Regions from separate parts of the Homo sapiens genome. Here all the other regions are linked to region 1. The links are contacts of gene promoters, found by promoter capture Hi-C in blood cells and fetal thymus (Javierre and others, 2016). All regions are on one chromosome and are shown on one strand. The core of a region is centred on a gene start or on the middle of the fragment in contact, and the rest is flanking DNA. Distances in the headings are between cores, read along the strand shown.

Evidence for each region. Contacts are between HindIII fragments. The CHiCAGO score rates a contact against its expected background, and 5 or more counts as called.
Region 2: a fragment that was not itself captured here is called in contact with the fragment with the promoter of TMC4 in region 1 in 1 of 17 cell types (neutrophils); the score reaches 5.5 in neutrophils.
Region 3: a contact is called between a fragment that was not itself captured here and the fragment with the promoter of TMC4 in region 1, in 1 of 17 cell types (neutrophils). The highest score is 5.5, in neutrophils.

What each region holds. Positions count from the first base shown.
Region 1 is chr19:54,171,049-54,175,853 of GRCh38, reverse strand. It overlaps TMC4 (transmembrane channel like 4), which reads left to right and starts at 2,694. Exons shown (of 15, transcript NM_144686.4): 1 at 2,694-2,815; 2 at 3,771-3,984. The coding sequence starts at 2,737. MBOAT7 (membrane bound acylglycerophosphatidylinositol O-acyltransferase MBOAT7) reads left to right here. Exons shown (of 8, transcript NM_024298.5): 8 at 1,423-2,439. The coding sequence ends at 1,810. RefSeq lists enhancers at 939-1,754, 1,755-2,571. The HindIII fragment of the contact is 9,651 bases long and covers 2,266-4,805 here.
Region 2 is chr19:54,285,704-54,290,508 of GRCh38, reverse strand. No RefSeq gene overlaps it. Among named protein-coding and RNA genes, the nearest start is that of MIR4752, 6.0 kb to the right of the region's middle. RefSeq lists an enhancer at 4,553-4,805. The HindIII fragment of the contact is 1,292 bases long and covers 1,238-2,529 here.
Region 3 is chr19:54,266,366-54,271,170 of GRCh38, reverse strand. It overlaps the pseudogene LOC100420187. Among named protein-coding and RNA genes, the nearest start is that of LILRB5, 11 kb to the right of the region's middle. RefSeq lists a silencer at 4,762-4,805. The HindIII fragment of the contact is 544 bases long and covers 2,205-2,748 here.

The sequences.
Region 1 (4,805 bases), core at 1,445-3,944:
GCTCGGGAGGCTGAGGCAGGAGAATCACTTGAACCCAGGAGGCAGAGGTTGCAGTGAGCCGAGATTGCACCACTGCACTCCAGCATGGGCGGCAGAGCGAGACTCCGTCTGAACAACAACAACAAAAAATACAGAAATTAGCTGAGTTTGGTGGCGCTTGCCTGTAATCCCAGCTACTTGGGAGGCTGAGGCATAAGAATCGCTTGAATCCAAGAGGCAGAGGCTGCAGTGAGCCTTGTCGTGTGGCAACAGAGCGAGACTCTGTCTCCAAAAAAATAAAAAGAGTGAGGAAAGATGGTGCTGGGCCTTGGAGGAAGAGGAACATATCTCCTGGGCCCAGAATAAGGAAGGACCACAGGCCAGGGACTTCTGGATCTTCATGAGCCAGGCAGGAGTTGTCAAATGTTAACAGGCATCAGAGTCACTGGAGGACTTGTTAACTTGGAAGACTTCTCCTGGGCCCCACCCCCAGGGCTTCTGGTGCAAAAGGGGTGGGGACAAGGATTTGTATGTCTCACAAGTTCTCAGGTGATGCTGATGCCAGACCTGGGACCCCAGGTTAAGAACCACCGGGCTGCCCGGGTGTGGTGTCTGACACCTGTGATCCCAGCACTTTGGGAGGCCAAGGCGGGCAGATCACGAGGTCAGGAGATCGAGACCATCCTGGCTAACACGGTGAAACCCCGTCTCTACTAAAAATAGAAAAGAAAATTAGCCGGGCGTGGTGGCAGGCGCCTGTAGTCCCAGCTACTCGGGAGGCTGAGGCAGGAGAATGGCGTGAACCTGGGAGGCGGAGCTTGCAGTGAGCCAAGATCGCGCCACTGCACTCTAGCCTGGGCGACAGAGCGAGACTCTGTCTCAAAAAAAAAAAAAAAAAACCACTGGGCTGAAGAATTAAGACTTGTTGGTCCTGGGAGAGGAAGGGCAGTGGAATATAAAATGTTAAATCTTTAAAGAAGAAGAGGGTCTTGATAGGACTGAGTGTGTATGGAAGGCTGCGAGCTCCTGGATCCCTGAAGGAGACAGAGGCCTGTAGCCTCCTCCGCCTTCCGGAGCTAGGGTCATGGGTCTGAGTGGGGAGGGCCTGGGGCCTGGTCTCCTGGATCTGAGGGAGGAGGGAGGTGGGGTCTGGTCTCCTGGATCTGAGGGAGGAGGGAAGTGGGGTCTGGACTCCTGGATCTGAGGGAGGAGGGAGGTGGGGTCTGGTCTCCTGGGTCTGAGGGAGGAGGGACTGGGGCCTGATCTCCTGGGTCTGAGGGAGGAAGGGGTGGGGTCTGGACTCCTGGGTCTGAGGGAGGAGGGGCTGGGCCTGCACTTCTCGGTCTGAGGGAGGAGGGGCTGGGGTCCTGGACTCCTGGATCTGGGGGCAGTGGGCACTGGGGACCTGGACTCGTAGGTCCTGACTCCCAGCCTCCTCCTCAGGAGCGCCTGGACCATGCTGCTGAGCGCCTACTGGCACGGCCTCCACCCGGGCTACTACCTGAGCTTCCTGACCATCCCGCTGTGCCTGGCTGCCGAGGGCCGGCTGGAGTCAGCCCTGCGGGGGCGGCTGAGCCCAGGGGGCCAGAAGGCCTGGGACTGGGTGCACTGGTTCCTGAAGATGCGCGCCTATGACTACATGTGCATGGGCTTCGTGCTGCTCTCCTTGGCCGACACCCTTCGGTACTGGGCCTCCATCTACTTCTGTATCCACTTCCTGGCCCTGGCAGCCCTGGGGCTGGGGCTGGCTTTAGGTGGGGGCAGCCCCAGCCGGCGGAAGGCAGCATCCCAGCCCACCAGCCTTGCCCCGGAGAAGCTCCGGGAGGAGTAAGCTGTCACGACGCTCCCTCTGCCAGCTGGTCCCGGGAATTCTGTGAACCAGGCTGCTGTCTCCTCCCCAGAAAGAGTCCTTACCTTGGAGAGGGTCCTGGAGAGAATTTCCTCTTCCCCAGCTAAATACCCTGCCTGCAACTGAAGCAGACCCGGGGGTGTCCTCCCTGCCCTCTGCCCAGAGGCCACCTCCACTCCTACAAAATCAAAGTATTGTCCAGACAAGAGTCACTGGCCCCTGCTCCAGCTTCTGGGTATCCAGAGAGCACTGCACTTCCCCAAAACGGAAGGGGCCCCTGGGCAGTGGGTTTTGGGCAAATTCCCTTTCTTTGCATCCACAATGTGGGGTCGGAGCTTGGGGGCAGGTCCTGGGAGTGGGAAGCCTCTTCCTTGTGTCTTTCGCTCCACTTTTAGCTCATCGCACCAATATTGCAGACTTGGAAGGAAGCATAAGCTTCCCATTTCACAAAGGGGAAACTGAGGTGCGGGTGCGCGGGCCTGGGGACGGCCGTCCCATGGCTTCCATCTGAGCCACCTCGGGACCCCAGCACTCCTGGCGCCCTCTTCTCATCGCTTGGCCTATGACAGGTCACCGTGTGTAAATCTTTCCCAATAAAGTGTTGCACAAAGGCATCGTGTCCGTGCAGGTATCTGGGTGATAAACGGTGGGAAGGACTTAGTCCACCAAGTCCCAGGGTGAGGTACAGCCCCCCCGCCCAGCCCAGGAACCAAACTGTGAGGCCCGGGGCACCACGGGGACTTCAGCTCCCAGGAGACCTTTCGCATCAGCGGCCCTGAGAAACCACAGGAAGTGTACCTTACTCCCTCCGGGCCACCTGCTGGCCAGGTACACACCTGCCCCTGGCCCCTCCCTTACCTGGGGCAGTGTCTGCCTGGTGGCCACTAGAGACAGCCCAGCCTGGGGCCATGGAAGAAAACCCGACCTTGGAATCAGAAGCCTGGGGCTCCTCTAGGGAGTGGCTGGCCCCCCGGGAGGCCAGAGGAGGTAGGGAATGCCAGGAGAAGCTCAGATCCATCCGACCTTCAGGCTAGGTGGGAGTCCTGCTGGAGGAGGAAAGGGGAGGCCTGGCCTCCTGAGTCTGAGGGCTAAAGAGAGAAGGTTCCACTTCCTGATATTATGGGGGAGAAGGGAACTGGAGGCTGGAACTCCAGGGTCTGAGGAGGAGGAGCCTGGAGAACCAGGCTAGTCTGGGAGGAGGGGAGGGCTAAGGGCTGGGAGTTTGGGTGTCTTGGGAATAGGAGAGGCTGGGTTCCCACACTCCTGAGCTAGAGGGAAAAGGAAGTTAAAGCCTGGACTCCACTGCCCTGGAGTAGGAGGGTTCCACGCTTGGGGATGGAGTTGAGGGCTGTGGACCCCTGGGTCCAGGGGAAGTAGAGGCTGGCACCCGGACTCCTGGGCCTGAGGGAGGAGGGGCTGGGAACCTGGTTTCCTGGTCTGAGGGAGGAGGGGCTGGGTGCCTGGATTCCTATGTCTGAGGGAGGAGGAGCCGGGGGCCTGGACTCCTGGGTCTGAGGGAGGAGGGGCCGGGGGCCTGTTCTCCTGGGTCTGAGGGAGGAGGAGCCGGGGGCCTGGACTCCTGGGTCTGAGGGAGGAGGCGCCGGGGGCCTGTTCTCCTGGGTCTGAGGGAGGAGGAGCCGGGGGCCTGGACTCCTGGGTCTGAGGGAGGAGGAGCCGGGGGCCTGGACTCCTGGGTCTGAGGGAGGAGGAGCCGGGGGCCTGGACTCCTGGGTCTGAGGGAGGAGGAGCCGGGGGCCTGGACTCCTGGGTCTGAGGGAGGAGGAGCCGGGGGCCTGGACTCCTGGGTCTGAGGGAGGAGGAGCCGGGGGCCTGGACTCCTGGGTCTGAGGGAGGAGGGGCCGGGGACCTGGTTTCCTGGTCTGAGGGAGGAGGAATTAGGGCCCAGACTCCCGGGTCTTCCCAGCCCCCTGCTCCTCCCCAGGCCCATCGCTGTCTTCTGTGCTGAACGAGCTGCCCAGTGCTGCCACCCTTCGGTACCGAGACCCTGGGGTGCTGCCTTGGGGGGCGCTGGAGGAGGAGGAGGAGGATGGAGGAAGGAGCAGAAAGGCCTTCACAGAAGTCACCCAGACAGAGCTGCAGGACCCTCACCCTTCCCGGGAACTGCCCTGGCCCATGCAGGCCAGACGGGCACACAGGTGAGGCCCCACCTCCAGCTGGGACCCGCACAGCCCGGACCGGGCCCTTCTCCCATACCCTGGACTCGGTCTCCTCCCTCTGTCCTCTGCCGCTCCTGGCTTCTGGGGCCTCTCTCTGCCCCGCTCAGAGCTGCCTCTCTTGGTTTCTTTCTTCCCCTCATCTTTGTCTCTACTTCGGACTCCAGGTGAGTGCTGCCTTTCGATGGCTCTGGGGTCTCTTCTCTCTGGGATTTGCCGTCTCCCTGGTCTCCACCAATCCTGTCTCTGCCTCAGTTTCTCTCTGTGTGTGTGTCCAAAATCTGTTAATATTTATTTCTCTCTGCTTTATACCTTCCTTCATCTTTGCCTCCTCTTCCAAGCCTCCCTCTCTTTAACTTCTTTCTTTTCCCATTCTCACTGCATAATTTGCAGGGCCTGGTGAACAATGAAAATGCAGGTGCCCTCCTTCAAAAATGATTATGGGCCCATTGCAGTGGCTCACACCTGTAATCCCAGCACTTTGGGAGGCCCAGGCGAGTGGATCACCTGTGGTCAGGAGTTCGAGACCAGCCTGGCCAACATGGCAAAACCCCAACTCTACTAAAAATACAAACATTAGCTGGGTGTGGTGGCGGGTGCCTGTAATCCCAGCTACTCGGGAGGCTGAAGCAGGAGAATCGCTTGAACCAGGGAGATAGAGGTTGCAGTGAGCCAAGATCGTGCCATTGGACTCCGGCCTGGGTGATAGAGCGGGACTCCATCTCAAATATATATGCGTATATATATGCATATGTGTGTATATATATACACATATATATGTATATATATGTGTATATATATGG
Region 2 (4,805 bases), core at 634-3,133, 120 kb before region 1:
TGTATTTTTTAATTTACTCCTATTTTTCAGTTTATCATGAGAGGTCAAGATTTGCATTTTGGCCAGGCGCGGTGGCCCACCCCTGTAATCCCAGCACTTTGGGAGGCGGAGGCAGGCGGATCAGGTGAGGGCAGGAGTTTGAGACCAGCCTGGCCAACGTGGTGAAGCCCCATCTTTACTAAAAATACAAAAATTAGCCGGGTGTGGTGGTGCGTGCTTGTAGTGCCAGCTACTCGGGAGGCTGAGACAGGAGAATCGTTTGAACGCGGGAGGTGGAGGTTGCGGTGAGCTGAGATTGTGCCACTGCACTCCAGCCTGGGCGACAGAGTGAGACTCTGTCTCGAAAAAAAAAAAAAAAAGATTTGCATTTCATGCTTAAATGTATGCACACTAGTGACTTAATTACTTCCTCCCTGAAGACCCCAATGGCACCAGACACAAATGCTCTGTCAGTTTTAATTTTCTCTTTAATGCAGGCGCTTCTCCTTCTGACAAGCTTTCATTTCTCATTTTCTGGACATGACTGTGATAACGGGGGTGTTGATGAAATATTATGAGAAGCATCTCTCAAGGGCAGGAACAAAGGGGCTCTCCTTAGTGGAAACATCAATCTCAGGCCTTGATGGTGGGCGCCAGCATCCCTTCATGCCCCCACCCCTCCTGTCTTCACCTGCTCTGGAAATTACCCATGGCTGAGCCCCCTGCAGTCCCCAGGCTCCAATGACCCAGCTCCCCTGTGATAAATGGGGTTCATCACAGGCTCCAAATGAGGAAACCGAGGCTCAGAAATGGGAGGTTACTGCCCAAGGTCACACAGGCAGGGGGTGACACATGAATATTTAAATAAAGACAAGATTTCCCCTCAAAGCAGAGTGCTAACCCCACGTATTGTCCCAGAACCTTGAACTCAGGAGCACAGGATGGGAACAGGAGTGTTTGAAAGAAGACAGGGGCACCAAGAAGGCAGAGTCAGGTCAATGTTGTTTCCAGGGAGACGGGGGCAGATGCTGTTGCGATGAGTGAATGAGAAGTTCGTGAAGGGAACGTTTTTGCATAAAGAAAACCCACACTCCAGTTCTGGGGAAAGAGTCATGATTCCTTCCCTTGTCTCCATGTATTTCCCTTTTCTGTTCATCGCCACAATAAAGCTCAACTGGAACTGCACAGCAAGATGCGAGATGAGTCTCTGCTGATGTGAGTCTGCCCCGCAGCCTGAATTTGCATCTTCCCTGAAGCTTCCCCAGGACTGGTGAGAAGACTGGCCATGGTAGGTTCCCCACAAGGGTGTGTTTATGGGTGAGCTGAAGGAGAGAGGGAAACCCCACGAGGAGTCTCTGAGAGGAAGGAAGAACCCTCCGTTGCCTTCACCTGGAAGGGACCAACTCAGGAAGGCACCACGTCCATTTGCAGCTACGTCCCGGCCCTCAATGAGACGAGGACATGTCAGGCAGACAGTGAAAGGAGATCAGGAGAGATGCCATGCGTGTCTGAAATATCAGCAGAAAGCCTGGTGCCTGTCTCAAAGGATGGTTCAATATATGCAAGTCAATAAAGGTGACTCACGACATAAACTAAGAACAAAAAGCATGTGATAATCTCAAGCGATGCAGATAAAGCATTCGAGAAAGGCCAAGTCCTGGGAAAACATGAGCCAGCGGGGTCCGGGACAGCTCACCACCCATGGAGATGCTGGTGGGAAAATCCTGTAAGTGGGAGTAAGGAAGGAGACCACTACTACTCCTGCTGCCCTCCTCCCCCCACCTTGCCTAGTTCACAAAACAGGAAGAGAGAAAAAGCCAAAAGTTGGAAAAATACAAAAGTAAGATAAATAGCCAGACAACCTTGGCACCACCACCCGGCCGTAGGAGTTAAAAAAAGTAATAATAATAACATCAACCCCTGACCTAAACTACTGGTGTTATCTGTAAATTCCAGACACTGCATGAAAAAAGCACTGTAAAACTTTTTGTTCTGTTAGCTGATGCATATAGCCCCCCACAGTCATGTTTCCCACGCTTGCTTGATGTATCACGACCCTTTCACGTGGACCCCTTAAAGTTATAAGCCTTTAAAAAGGCCAAGAATTTCTTTTTCGGGGAGTTCGGCTCTTAAGACGCGAGTCTGCCCACGCTCCCAGCTGAATAAAAACCTCTTCCTTCTTTAATCCGGTGTCTGAGGAGTTTTGTCTGCGGCTCGTCCTGCTACAGGAGAGCCCTGCCTCTCTGTGCCATGACTGTCACTCCCATGGCCATGGTCCACTTCACTGAGATTTGACGAGGGGAAAGGGAGATTCTAGCATGAGAGGGACCCTGCCCCACAGATAGGCCCTGGTCCAGTAGGAGACCCCAGGGGCTAGGGAGGATCCCATTCTCATTTTCCTGGGAAAATGTTTTCACTTCTCCCCATTCAATTTGATGTTGGCTGTGGGTTTGTCACGCAGGGGGTGTTGGTATTTTGCGGTATGTTTCTTTCATGCCTAGCCTGTTGAGGGATTTTATCACGAAGCGATGTTGGACTTTCTTGAAAGCTTTATCTGCATCTATAGAGATGATCATATGCTTTTTGTTCTTAGTTCATGTCATGAGTCACTTTTATTGACTTGCATATATTGAACCATCCTTTCTTCCCTGGAATCAAGCCAACTTGATCATGATGAATTATGTTTTTGATACACTGTTAGATTCCGTTTGCTAGTATTTTCTTGAGGATTTTTGCATCTGTGTTCCTCAGATTTCTTGGCCTGTAGTTTTATTTTTCTGTTGGATCCTTGTCTGATTTTGCTATCAGGATGATACTGATTTTGTAAAATGAGCTGGCAAAGAATCCCACTTCCTTGATTTTTGGAATACTTTCAGTATGATTGGTACCAGCCCTCCTTCGTACATACAGCTAAGTTCAACTGCGAATCCATCTGTTCCTGGACTTTTTTGCTGGAAGATTTTTAGTACTGATCCTTTTTCATTGGTTGTTATCGGTCTGTTTAGAGTTTCTATTTTTTGCCTGTGCAATCTTGGGAAGTTGTGTGTGTCTAGGAATTCATCTATTTTCTCCAGGTTTTCTAGTTTATGTGCATAAAGGTGTTCATAGTAGTCTCTGATGATCTTTTGTATCTCTGTGGTGTTGGTTGTAATGTCAACTTTATCATTTCTGATTGTGCTTATTTAAATCTCCTTTTTTTGGTTAGTGTAGTCAGCCATCTCTCAATTTTATTTATACTTTCAAAAAACCAACGTTTTCTTTCATTGATTCTTTGTAATGTTTTTGTGTCAGTCTCATTCTTTATCTGTCCTTTCAGAGTTTCCATTGTTTTCAGCATCCATCACTAGCGAGCCAGTGCGATCCTTTGGTGGTGCCACAATATTCAGATTTTTCACGGCGTCAGAATCCTTACACTGATTCCTTCTCATCTGGAGAGGCCTCCACTTACTCTCTTCGAATTTATTTTCGTTTGGATGGGATTTCTTTTGCACATTTTCCCCCAGCCCCGCAGGGAGGGTGACTGTAGAGCATGTTGGGAAGGGTCTTTTGGCTTTTCCCATGGCTTTGGGAGCTTCTGCAGCAGGGTTTGCATTGGGCTGTGCAGCTCAGATTGCAGGCCAGGAGCTGGTGCTTAAGGGTAAGAGCCACGCTCGGCACAAGCAGGTGGATGTGGACCTGGTGTGTTTCCTGTGAGGTGCTGACTCTTGTTTCAGGGGAAGGGCTGGACCGTGGAGTGTCAGGTGCCCTGAGCTTCCTGTTCCACAGGGGCGAGGGAACACCCCTGGGCAGAGCTGGAACCCCCGGCTTGCCCACAGATATCCCAGTGATGAGTGCAGGCACTAGTCCTGATGGACATGGCTGGAGCAGCTCCTAGTGAAATGCCCTGAGGTCTCTGCGGGGAGTGAAGGAGCTACACCGTTTCCAGTCCCATAGGGAGGAACGTTGTCTGTCTCCCTATCACACCCGTGCTCCAGGGCTCATGAGTCTCAGTTCAGACACACACTCTTGTCTCTCCCCAGGCCACAGTGTGGCTGAGGGCAGTGGGAAACACCTGCCTTGCCACTCTCTGCAGGCGTGGTTCCAAGGCAGAGCCTCCTCCCTCAGCCCAGTGCAGACCCTGAGCGGCTGTCTGTTGTCTGACGCGGTAGCTGCTTCATGTAGGTGGGATGTGGGGCTTCTGCCTCTCTGGATGGGAGAGTGGACGTCAGTTGTGGTGGTGTTGCTGGCTGGGTGGGCCCGACCTCAGGCCCTGGGGTGAGTGGTCAGGTGCCAGCAGGTAGGAAAGGGCAGGTAGTTCCCGGATCACAGGCCCCTAGGTGGCCGGCTGGACAGCGTGTGTGAGTCCTGAAGGGGCTGGACTGGGTTTCGGCTGCTCCGGGGTTCAGATGCTGGCTGTGATGGGGAGGGATGGGCTGGTCCCCAGGTCACCGGCAGAACCTTCAGGCGGGGCAGGCAGAAGGCTCAGGTGGTAGAGCCTGCGGCAGATCACAGGCCTGTGGGGACTGGGCTCTCAGAAGGGCTGGGGGCTGCAGCTGAAATGTCCAGGTGGGGGCAGGGTGGCTGTGCTGTGGGCCTGTCACTAGGGAGGGCAGCGCCCCTCGGCTGGGGCACTGGAGACTGGCAGCTGTGAGGCACAGGGCCCGCTCACACTTCCCTCCTGAAGAAGTGTCACTCGGTTTTGCTCTGGGGACACGTGAAAGTGCCAGGCCTCCCCACACCCTCCCTGGGCCTGGGGCAGCAGGGGCAGAGGCAGAGGTGGCAGTGACTGCAAAGGGCTTGTCAGGGGCCTCTGAGCATTGGGCTTTCAGAGGGCACCGAGCCAGGGC
Region 3 (4,805 bases), core at 1,227-3,726, 96 kb before region 1:
GGAGGAGACGCCATGACTCCCTCCCACAAACCTCTGATCTGTCTTGATAAAATTGAAAGAGGGAGAGGGGAGACTGTAGCCTGGAAGGAATCCCACCTCACAACTTGGTCCTGATTGAATAGAAGACCCCAGAGGTTCACAGAGATCCCAAGGTGGGGAGGATCTGCCCAGGGTTCAGGAGGCGAATCTCTCTCAGGAAGCTCCGTGACCCCCTCTCTAGTGTCACTCCTGTGCCTCAGTGGGATTTGGAGAGGATGCCTTAGATTAGAGGGTATTGTTCAGTGGGATTTGGAGAGGATGCCTTAGATTAGAGGGTATTGTGTCTTTCAGCAACAAAACCGTACAAAAAAACACCTGGACATTTCACATCAGTGGATAAAGCATATCTTGTGCCAAATCAGGACCAAACTGCGGTGAAATTTCGGGTTCACACTACAGTTAATCGCCTTTGAGGAAAGCATTCCAGGTTGGTGCCTATCTCTGCGATAAACGTCTCCCTTCCTGGCTACAGGTAATGGATTAAAGCGACACTGGCCGAACAGACACTGTCTTCACCCGATGATTATACTGAAAAATGGCCATAAAATTGTTCCCTCCAAATCCAATTCCCTTTGTGACAACTCTCAAAAGAAGATATACGAACGGTCCACAAACATATGAAAAACATGTATGTGTATGTGTGTATATACACACACACAGCACGGAATACTACTCAGCCACAAAAAGGGACAAAATAATGGCATTCGCAGCAACCTAGATGCAGTTGGAGACCATTATTCCAAGTGAAGTAATTCAGAAATGGAAAACCAAACATCATATGGTCTCATAAGTGGGAGCTAAACTATGAGGATGCAAAGGCATAAGAAGGATATAATGGAATCTGGGGACTCACAGGGAACAATGGGAGGGGGATGAGCGATAAAAGACTACACATTGGGTGCAGTGTACACTGCTCGGGTGATGAATGCACCAAAATCTCAAAAATCACCACTAAAGAGCTTATCCACGTAACCAAACACCACCTGTTCCCCAAAAGCTATTGAATTTTTTTTAAAAAAATAATAAATTAAAATAAATGTACTACATTAAAAACAACAACAAAATGGCAAAAATCCAATTGCACATAGCAAAATGTTTTCGTGGTCTCTGCACGCTAGAGCATGTAATTGGTCTTTGTTCCTTTCTACTGTTGAAGAATATTCCATTCTATGCCTATATCACATTTGGTTTATGCATTCACCAATTGATGGACATTTGGGTTGTTTTCACTATTTAGCTATCATGAATAATGACAAAAAAAGGACATATATTTGTTTGGGTTTTTTTATTTTTAAAAGGTTACAATTATTTATTTATTTATTTATTTACTGAGACAAAGTTTCACTCTGTCGCCCAGGCTAGAGTGGAGTTGTGAGATCTTGGCTCACTGCAACCAGTTCAAGCAAATTTTTGTGCCTCAGCCTTCTGAGTAGCTGGGATTACAGTTGTGCACCACCACAGGAGGCTATTTTTTTTAATTTTAGTAGAGACAGGGTTTCGCCGTGTAGGCCAGGCTGGTCTCGAACTCCTAGACTCAAGCCTTCCACTCGCCTCAGCCTCCCAAAGTGCTGGGATTAGAGGCGTGAGCCATCACACCATGCCAAAAGGTTATAATCATTTAAATTCGGGTTGCAACTGTATGCTTACAATTCTCTACATTTAGATTTAAAAACATTTTATTGATGGTCAATCTGGAACATAATTAATGCATCTTAATTAAGTTTCCACTGATGTATATAGAAGGCTAAAGGCTGAAGTTTTATTCACCTCTAGTAGAGTAACCAACCATAAAATCATTAGTTACTTTCAACTTCATAACTAATTGACATTTCCCAAATGAGCTGTCTTTAATCCTGATAGTTCTTTAGTTTTAAAAATATATTTGCCATGGGATGCTGATTTGCAATGGGTGTCATAATGAGAATAACCAAAATTGGGTAAACGTGACAAAATATTGACAAAATGTTTCACACCCTTAAATTACACAACGTCAATAATGAGGAGAAAGCATTGCAAAAGGAGACTACTGCAATGCTACTTATATTCTTGCAATAAAACCAGCAAAGCATCCACATCAAGAGAGTTCTCATCTCACTTCCAACTTTTTCCCCTGAAGAACAATTTGAATCTCTTTGGCACCTAAAGTCTCATAGGTCAATAAAGCTTCTGCTAGATTCTTATGCTCCTCTGCATGACTTTTCAAGATAAGTTTTGCTCATTTTTTTTAAGGTTTGCATCATTCTTCTTTATTTTTGACTTGATTTTCCATTCAACATCACCAACAAGTTTTTAGCGAAATGTAATAATTATATAATTAAACATCTTTCATGGATCACCCTATCCATCTCTACTATATAAATTTAAGATGCTAAATGTTTTAAAAATACTTCTTGATTATGGTTATTAATTGTTCACAAGTCCACTGGTAAATATTACTTATTCCTAGACTGAAACAGAGCTAAACGTCAATACTATATCTAGTTTTCATTTGTATAGATACAGGACTGAGAAAATTTGTTCATCTAAATAAATACTATGGATGGGGTAGGAAGGTGTTTTGTTATAACCATGTCATACAATTATTTGAATTTTGAATAAGTTTTGCTCATTTATATGAGTCCCTTAGAATGGTTCTTATTTCATGTTCAATAGCAGATTGAGTTTCTGGACTTAGTTTCCCTGTGTCACTGTAGGTCATAACTCCAAGCTTTTCGCTAATTCCAAATTTGATAACCATCTGCTTTGCCATTTTAGTGGCATTAGCAAAATCACTGGAAGCACCTGTTGTAATATGGTCAATTCCAAATATAAGCTCCTCTGCCACTCTTGCTCCCATACTAATGTCCATTTGTGCAAGCAGCTGGGCTCTGGTTTCATTCCATCTGTCATCACCAGGTAATGGGGACACAGGTCCAAATGTTGGCCCCTGTGGCATGATTGTAGCTTTGTTGATAGACATTTCATCTTTTGTGTAATATGCAATAATGGCATGACCAGATTCATGATAAGTTGTGATGGATTTGTTTTTGTTATCAATTTCTGTACTTCTTCTGTCAGGCCACATTATAATTTTGTCTTTGGAAAACTTCAGTTCCTTCATGGTAACCACTTCTTTTCCATCAACAGCTACAAAAGGACGTGTATTTGGTGTGATTTTATGCACATGAAATATCCAGAATAGACAAAGCCATAGAAACTGAGAGTAGACTAGTGATTTCTTAAGGCTGAGGGAAGGGAAGAACTAGGACTGACTACTTGGGGGTTCTTTCTGAGGTGATGGAAATGCTGTGGGATGAGGTAGGGATGGTGATTGCACAGCATAGTGAAGACACTAAAATCCATTTATTTGTACACTAAAAAATGGTGCATTTCATATGGTGTGAGTTATGTCACATAACTCAGTAAGTAAATAAATAATTCATATCCCGGCTTCTGCCCAGGGTTTGGGGAGCTGGAAAGAGTTTCACTAGCTGGGTGCGGTGGCTCACACCTGTAATCCCAGCATTTTGGGAGGCTGAGGTGGGTGGATTGCCTGAGGTCAGGAGTTTGAGACGAGCCTGGAAAACATAGTGAAACCCTCTCTCTACTAAAAATACAAAAAAAAAGCTGGGCATGGTGGCACATGCCCGTAATCCCAGCTACTGGGGAGGCTGAGGCAGGAGAATCACTTGAACCCAGGAGGCAGAGGTTGTAGTGAGCCAAGAACACGCCATTGCACTCCAGCCTGGGCAACAAAAGCGAAACTCCATCCCTCCCCCTCCCTCCCCCACTCCAAAAAAAGAGCTTCTCTGCAATCCTAACCATGAGTAAAACTCAGATCAACTCCATAATGTAGATTTCACCTGAGACCATCAGAAATCCGAGCTCTGGGAGCAACTGAGTAACCTGAATTCCAAGGAGGAGTAGGATGCCATGACAGGCTCTACAAAGGCAGAACACATGAGGGTGGGAGACTGCCATACAAGCTGGGAAGGAGGAATCAGATGATATTGTCATGAATTCCTCAAGAGTTAGTGTTTGCTGGCCTCCAAGAGGCAAGGATCTCTGGGAACTTAAGACAGAGAAGCACTTCACACTCACCCATGAGCTCTTTTCCGTGGGTCTCAACTGGGCATTCACAACATAGATTGGAAGTAAGGTGGAGACCCAAAATTTGTGATCAGACATGATTACCTTCCACAGTGTGTGGCCTGAAATCTCACCCCCTGCCCAGATACTTCTCCCATGTGTAGAAAAAGACTGAAGTCATTGAGAGAGGTTCAGAAAAACCAGCCAATCTCAGGCCCCAGGTAAAAACCCATTGTGGATATAAGAAGGTAGATTTAAAAGTCCCTCTATCCCTAGGAGTACTGCAGAAAATTCCTGAAACCATAATCCCAGATATACAAATGTCAGGGAAGGGACAGGAAATTCCTGCCCAAGTCAACCAAAGCTACCAAGTACAATCCAGCTGCCAAGGGGAAGAAGGACACAAACACTGAGCAAGCTCCACCCTCAAGGCCCACTCATATAGAAATTGTCCAAGACTGAGGCTGGGTGAGGACAGGAGAAATTTATACTCCCTACCATGAGCCTATCCCTGAGAAGCAAGCAAGAGCAGTCCACAGCTGGGGGAGGCACCAGGTGGAGTACAGAATTGATGCAGTGGAATCCATCCAGCTGTGGGGTCAGCAGGCCCAATGCAAGCAGGAGGGGCCCGTGAATGGGATAGCCATGGAGCAAGAAAGGAGGACATGCATGAACCCAACACCAGTGACTCCCTCTCA